2 separate regions of the Homo sapiens genome follow, and region 2 is linked to region 1. The links are contacts of gene promoters, found by promoter capture Hi-C in human tissues and cell types (Jung and others, 2019). All regions are on one chromosome and are shown on one strand. The core of a region is centred on a gene start or on the middle of the fragment in contact, and the rest is flanking DNA. Distances in the headings are between cores, read along the strand shown. Region 1 holds the start of ZNF593 (zinc finger protein 593). Region 2 overlaps PAFAH2 (platelet activating factor acetylhydrolase 2).

What was found. The method cuts DNA at HindIII sites, captures the fragments that hold promoters and counts their contacts. A contact is called where the count stands out against the background at its distance.
Region 2: a fragment that was not itself captured here is called in contact with the fragment with the promoter of ZNF593 in region 1 in 1 of the 25 tissues and cell types used here (pancreas).

What each region holds. Positions count from the first base shown.
Region 1 is chr1:26,168,097-26,171,157 of GRCh38, reverse strand. ZNF593 (zinc finger protein 593) reads right to left here and starts at 1,250. Exons shown (of 3, transcript NM_015871.5): 1 at 975-1,250; 2 at 678-740; 3 at 285-583. The coding sequence starts at 1,174. The coding sequence ends at 442. It overlaps C1orf232 (chromosome 1 open reading frame 230), which reads left to right and starts at 2,195. Exons shown (of 4, transcript NM_001364669.2): 1 at 2,195-2,742. The coding sequence starts at 2,659. ZNF593OS (ZNF593 opposite strand) reads left to right here. Exons shown (of 4, transcript NM_001395468.1): 3 at 1-2; 4 at 560-1,637. RefSeq lists an enhancer at 1,381-1,480 and a silencer at 2,714-2,869. The HindIII fragment of the contact is 4,053 bases long and covers 220-3,061 here.
Region 2 is chr1:25,990,580-25,993,801 of GRCh38, reverse strand. It overlaps PAFAH2 (platelet activating factor acetylhydrolase 2), which reads left to right. Exons shown (of 11, transcript NM_000437.4): 2 at 2,939-3,075. The coding sequence starts at 2,986. Among named protein-coding and RNA genes, the nearest start is that of PAFAH2, 5.9 kb to the left of the region's middle. RefSeq lists an enhancer at 1-231. The HindIII fragment of the contact is 7,134 bases long and covers 1-3,222 here.

The DNA.
Region 1 (3,061 bases), core at 1-2,500:
GGGTAGGTGACTCGGGAGGGGGGTGCAATCTCAGAAGCCTTCTTTTCTGGGGATCAGTCTCTGTCAGAAGCAGGACAGAGTAATCTGATCCCACTCCCGCCACCCCACACTGCATCAGGCCTCCATCTGGGTGCTCCAGTTCAGATGCTAGGACCTCAGAGGGAAGGCAGAGATAGACCAAGTGGGGAGTAGACACCCTAGGCCTGGTGTACAGAAAGTAGTAGAGAAGCCCTTCCAGGGCAGGAGTTTGAGACAGCGGCCTGGAAGTTAGAGTTGGAGGCAAGTTCTCTTTGTCCAGTTCCTTTATTTGGGGCAGGGCACCAAGAAGAGGCCCTCCGCTCCCCAAACCCAGAGGCAAAAGGGGTTGGCACGCTCCCTCCCAGCCTAGTCCTTGCGTCACTGTCCATGGGCAATTCCTCTGCCCTGCATCTTCAGGCCATGTCAGGTAGAGGTATCCATCTCAGGGACCTCAGTGGACACTTCCGTGGGCACTGCCAGCCGCCTGGGGGGCACATAGGATCCCATACCCGCTGCCCTCTCCGCCTCTTCCTGACTGTAGGGCTCGACGCTCAGCTGCTTCAGCCTGGGAGAAAGAAAAACAGGAGTTGGGAGCTGACCAGGTGAGAGCCCTATCTGCTGAGCACCCATCCATCAATCCTCTCCTTACTCCTTCATACCTTTTCTTGTGGTCTTTGGATCGGAAGTGGGTCTTCAGGTTGGTGGAATCGATGAAGTACCTCCTGTAGGAATGGAAGTGAGAAGGAGAGTGAGGAGGTGATAGTCTCCCAAGTGCACCTATCTCCCTAGCCCTAGCTTGTCCCTGACGCCAGGATCCGGGTCTGAGAAACGGGAGGCGGGCGGACCCACGGGTCCCAAGAGAGAAGACTCTGCGCTGCCTGGGGCTTCAACTTCACATCTCCCGGCCGGTACCGCGGACCCTCCTCCGCCCCAGGCCGGGCTCGTCCGGGACTCACGCGCAGGCCAGACAGCGGTGCAGACCGCCCCCTGGCAGGTCGGGGTCGAACTCGGCGTTTGGGTCGGGCTGGGGTCGTGCGGATCCCTGAGGCCGCAGCTCGCGGTGAATCTCATCCAAGTCCGGCCGCCGCCGCTTCGCCTTCATCTGCCGGGCTAGAGAGTGCGCTCGGTGCGCGCCTGTCCGGCGGGAGCGACCCATGGCCAGAAACAGCCCGGCCGGCCAAGGGGCCAGGAGCAGGGCAGGGAGCACACGTGTGAGCACTTCCGGGCCGATCAGCTACGTCAGGCCACGCCGGGGGGCTAGGCAGGCTCGGCCGGACCGCCTCTGATGACGTCACTCTCGGCCAGCGGCTCGAGCGCCGCCAGGCGGCCGTCGACGTCAGTGACCGAGCTCAGGACGGGCTCCCAGAAGTGTGCCCACTGAAGGGCATGGCCCCGCGGGCCCTCGCTGGGGAGGCGCGGGGTGGTGCGTGCGCCTGGGGGTTTCGGGGCCGTCTTGCTGCCCTGCTCTTCCTGGCCTGGTCCAACCAGTATCAGTGCCAACCTGTACTCCTGTCATCCCTTCCTGTTTCCCAGACCTTGGACTCCGCGGTGGGGGTGGGATGCTTTATCTCTGGAAAGCACTGATAAATGTCTGTGTCATGAATAAATTAGTAAATGACTGAGAGTGAATAAGTTTGGAATCCCAGCCCCACCAGGGCTTCCCGAGATAATCTCCAGTCCCTGAAAAAGCCCTCACTTCTCCGGGCTCCCGTTATTCCCTTGAGTCTCCATCCTCTCTCTGACCCCAACCAAATCCGTGAAGGGTGTTCCTCCCCAGAGAGTGCAGTCCTCAGGCATCCAGACTCCAGAGGGATCAGTTCCTCTCACAAGTACTCATAGAAGGACCTCTCCATCTTTGCCTCCTTTCTCTAAGCCCTGGGCTCCCAGAGGTGGGCTGGCAGCAAAGGCCTAGGTGTTGCATGCTCAGAGTGGCTAGAGGGCCTTTCCCCATTCACAGGAGCCTGGTGCCTCCCAGGCTGGCCAGAGCCAACTCAGCTGGAAGGGGCCAGAGGAGCTTAGCAATAATTCAGGGGCTCCAGCTCTTTGGAGTCTGTTGCCAGGAAACAAGGAGACAGGCACGTGTATCCCTGGGGAGAGGAATCAGTTTCCAGCCCAGACAAAGGAGTGAAATGTAAGCCCAAGGTGCCCACTGGGGGCCTGCGGACCTTCCTGCTCCAGTTCATTGAGGCTAAGTAGGGACACAGGGTGGAGCCCTGCTGAGGACACAACTAGTATGACTACAGTCACAGGGGCTCCAGTGTGGGTCCCAGACCTCAGGATTTTGTGAATGGAAGAAGATTTTCCTGGAGGCATGCTAAGAGATGAACAACTCAAGTACTCCTAGGCCCAGGAAGAAAGCCTCTCTAGAGACAAATGACTTCATTATTCTTGGCCAATATGGGTCAAGACAAGGGGCTAAGGTGGCAGAAGCTTGTTCCATCCCCCACTCCCCGACTCCTTTGGATCAGGTTCACCTCCTGGGCACTGTGCCAGCTGGGGAGGCTGGTGCATCTTTAATGAAGTCACTGGATCCCTCGGACAGGCTCTTGGCCTCACCAAGTTCCTAGAGCCAGACTCACTGGTATCCACTGAGCCACCACCTTCCTGTGCTTGCGTGCCAGGCCCCTTCCCCCTGCAGCCATGAACCAGGCCTTCTGGAAAACCTACAAGTCCAAAGTGCTACAGACCCTGAGTGGGGAATCTGAAGAAGACCTGGCAGAGGAGGTGGGTGCCATCCATGCATGGTGGGTGGAGCATGTGCAGAGGGGCAGCAGGAATGAGCAGTATGAAGTGGGGCACAGGATAGGCTTGGAGGTGGGGGGGCCACATTTGTGCAGATGCCACATTCAGGGATGGTAAAAACCATGGTGCAGCATCAGAAAGCCAGGACATTCAAGAAAACTGAGGAAGAAAAGACTTAGGGACCATGGGAGGAGTGGCCACTGTCTCCAAAGATCTCGAGGCTGCCACATGGAAGAGATTCTTCTAGGACCAGTGGGCAGTAGGCACACGGGCACACTTAGCTGGACACAACTTTCTAATG
Region 2 (3,222 bases), core at 372-2,871, 180 kb after region 1:
CATGTGAGTGACAGGTGTCTTGTGGCCCCAGCAGTAGGTCTTCCATTTGCAGACCTCAACAACAAGCGATGGGGAAAGGTCAGGGTCTCAGGCTAAGCAGAGCTCATCCCCCTTCACTCTGGCTGAACAACCCACTGACATCAGGAGCTTAGCTTCTTTTTCAAAAGAATTGGGTTTGTTTTTAAATTTGCTAAAAAGAAACAAAATGAAGATGCTATCTGTAGTAGAAAGAAAATAATTTCTTATCTTTCAAAGTTAAATAGAATGATGTTAGGATTGTTGAGACCAGACAAGTGGCAGCTGACAACCAGGAGACTGTGTGTTGTTATCATCGTTCTGCTTGTGACTCTGAGCAGCTCACTTAATCTCTCCGGACCTTGGTGTCTTCCCTGGTAAAGCACGTGTATGTACGCGGAGAAGGGGAAAACGATTGTGGAGGGGATTGACGGAAATGCTCCCTTAGGTCTCTTCTTACCCAGACATGCTTTGACTGGAACTCCTGAATCCCTCCCAGAGCATCTTAAAGGAAGCAGAATAATTTAATCATTAACATGTGGACCCCAGACTCAGTGTGTATCCATTTAGATGCTTTTGGTTACAACCAAAAGAAATCTAACTTCAGTTGGTTTAACCAAGAAAGGGAACTTACTGACTCATGTAACTAGAAAGTCTAGGAGTGGGTCAGGTTTCAGGTATGGTCTAATCTGTGGATTCTTAATGTCTTCACAAATGGGCCTCTATTTCTCTGTGATTCTTCTGGTTTTCCCATCCACCATGGGTATCTTCATCCTCAAGGTGGCAAAAGTGGCTGCTGTGGTTCAAGGCCACTTGACAGGTGACATCTGCACATCACACTAGTCCAACACAGGAAATAACTTTTCTCCCCTCAACCGTCATACCAAAGTCCCGGGTTTTACGCCTATTGGACCAACCTAATGCCATACGCGCACTTTTCATCCAAATACTGACCGGAGAATAAGAAGGACTGATTGGCTCCGGTTAATTAAGGCTCAACTCCGGAGGTTAAGGAGGGGTCAGCCCCACCCAAATCACAAGGCAAGGGACACTGGGAAGTTTGACATTCTCATGTTACAACCACATTGTCCATGATCGAATTCTGGCTCTGCTCGCCATATGTTATTGGGTAAATTGCCTTTGTCAAGCATCTGTTTCCTCATCTGTAAAATGAGATAATAATACGTATCTCAGAGGACTGTTGAAAGAATTAAATAAAATAATATGTGAAAAGCACTAAACATAGTTCCTGGCACAGAGTAAGTATGATGATGATGGTGGTGTTGGAGATGATGAAACTGAAGAGGGTTAGGGGAGCACTGGCACCAGTTTAGGAAGCAGCTGAGCCGTAGGAATGTTATCTAGTCAGGAGTGTGCATGCCTGTCATGCTGAAAGCATCTGTTTGATCTACTGCCCACATCATACTTTTCCCTACCTCTGCTTTTTTTCCTCTTAGGATTTTTTCTATAAGTGCTTTCTTCCTCCTCCCCTGCCTCTCAACTTCCTCATCTTTAAAGGCCCAGCATAAGTGCTACCCCATATTCAGTAGTTTAAAAGCTGGGTGTGGTGGCTCTTACCTGTAATCCCAGCTACTTGGGAGGCCTAGGCAGGTGTATTGTTTGAGCCCAGGAGTTTGAGACCAGCCTGGACAACATAGCAAGACCCTGTCTCTCAAAAAAATCAAACGGTTTTAAGAAAAAGCTTAGTTCAGTAACTTTGCATCTGTATAACTGAATCTCCCCCTGAGCAGGATCAGTAATGGTTAAGAACTTAGCTTCCGGATTAGGCAGAGATGGGTTTGCCACTGGGTAACTTGGGAAGGTTATTCAACCTCTTTATGCCTTAGTTTCCTCATCTGTAAAACAGGGTCTTTTGTTTGTTTGTTTGTTTTTTGAGACAGGGTCTCACTCTGTCACCCAGGCTGGAGTGCAGTGGTGCAATCTCGGCTCACTGCAACCTCTGCCTCCCAGGTTCAAGCGATTCTCTTGCCTCAGCTTCCTGAGTAGCTGGGACTATAGGTGCCTGCCACTGCACCCGGCTAATTTTTGTATTTTTAGTAGAGACGGGGTTTCGCCATGTTGGCCAGGCTGGTCTTGAACTCCTGACCTCAGGTGATCTGCCCGCCTCGACCTCCCAAAGTGCTTGGATTACAGGCGTGAGCCACCGTGCCTGGCCAAAACAAGGTCTTAATAGTACCTACCTCAGGCCAGGCGCGGTGGCTCACGCCTGTAATCCCAGCACTTTGGGAGGCCAAAGTGGGTAGATCACGAGGTCAGGAGATCAAGACCATCCTGGCCAACATGGCGAAACCCCGTCTCTACTAAAAATTAAACAAAAAATTAGCTGGGCATGGTGGCACGTGCCTGTAATCCCAGCTACTCAGGAGGCTGAGGCAGGAGAATCGCTTGAACCAGGGAGTCGGAGGTTGCAGCGAGCAAGATCATGCCACTGCACTCCAGCCTAGCAACAGAGCGAGACTCCGTCTCAAAAAAAAAAGTACCTACCTCAGAGAGTGGTTGAGACAATGAAATGATGCAATGTGTATAGTGTCTATAAAGAGGTCAGTACAGTGCTAACCGTAAATAATGGATCTTAGTGGTTACTATTAGCCTCAGGAGAGCAAGGTCTGTGTGACAGTCTCTGCAGCAGTAGCTGCTGGATAAACATACGTTAATGGGCTGTAAGGAGTATGGATGGCTCTCTTTCGTCTTCCAGCCATCTCCTCACCCTAGCAAAATAAAAAACAACCCCCAACCTTGGCAAAGGCAATGTAGCAAAGTAGTAGGTGCAAGATTTAATGAGCGACGGCAGGGAGGATGAGGTGCTAAGGAGGGGTGGACAGGGTAACAGATAACACATTTCAGCAACAGGAAGCCGAGAGGAAACCAGCAAGCGGCTGCTGTTCTGTGTTCCCCCATCCAGCCAGCAAGTTCAGCTCCGGCAAGTCATTTGATTCACCCGGTGATGAAATGGGGGTCAACCAGTCTGTGGGCTTTCCACCTGTCACAGGACCCCACCTCGTAGGCTGTGGGGATGTGATGGAGGGTCAGAATCTCCAGGTAAGTGTCCCCAGCTCCCTTTCTTCTGTTTGCACTGCTTCTGCCGGCACCGTGACTTACTGATCACAAGTCTGATCCTGTATTCCCACGGTGGGGAAAATGAATTAGAGCGGGTCTGGATTTGGTTATCAAGCCCCCAGGTCTGTC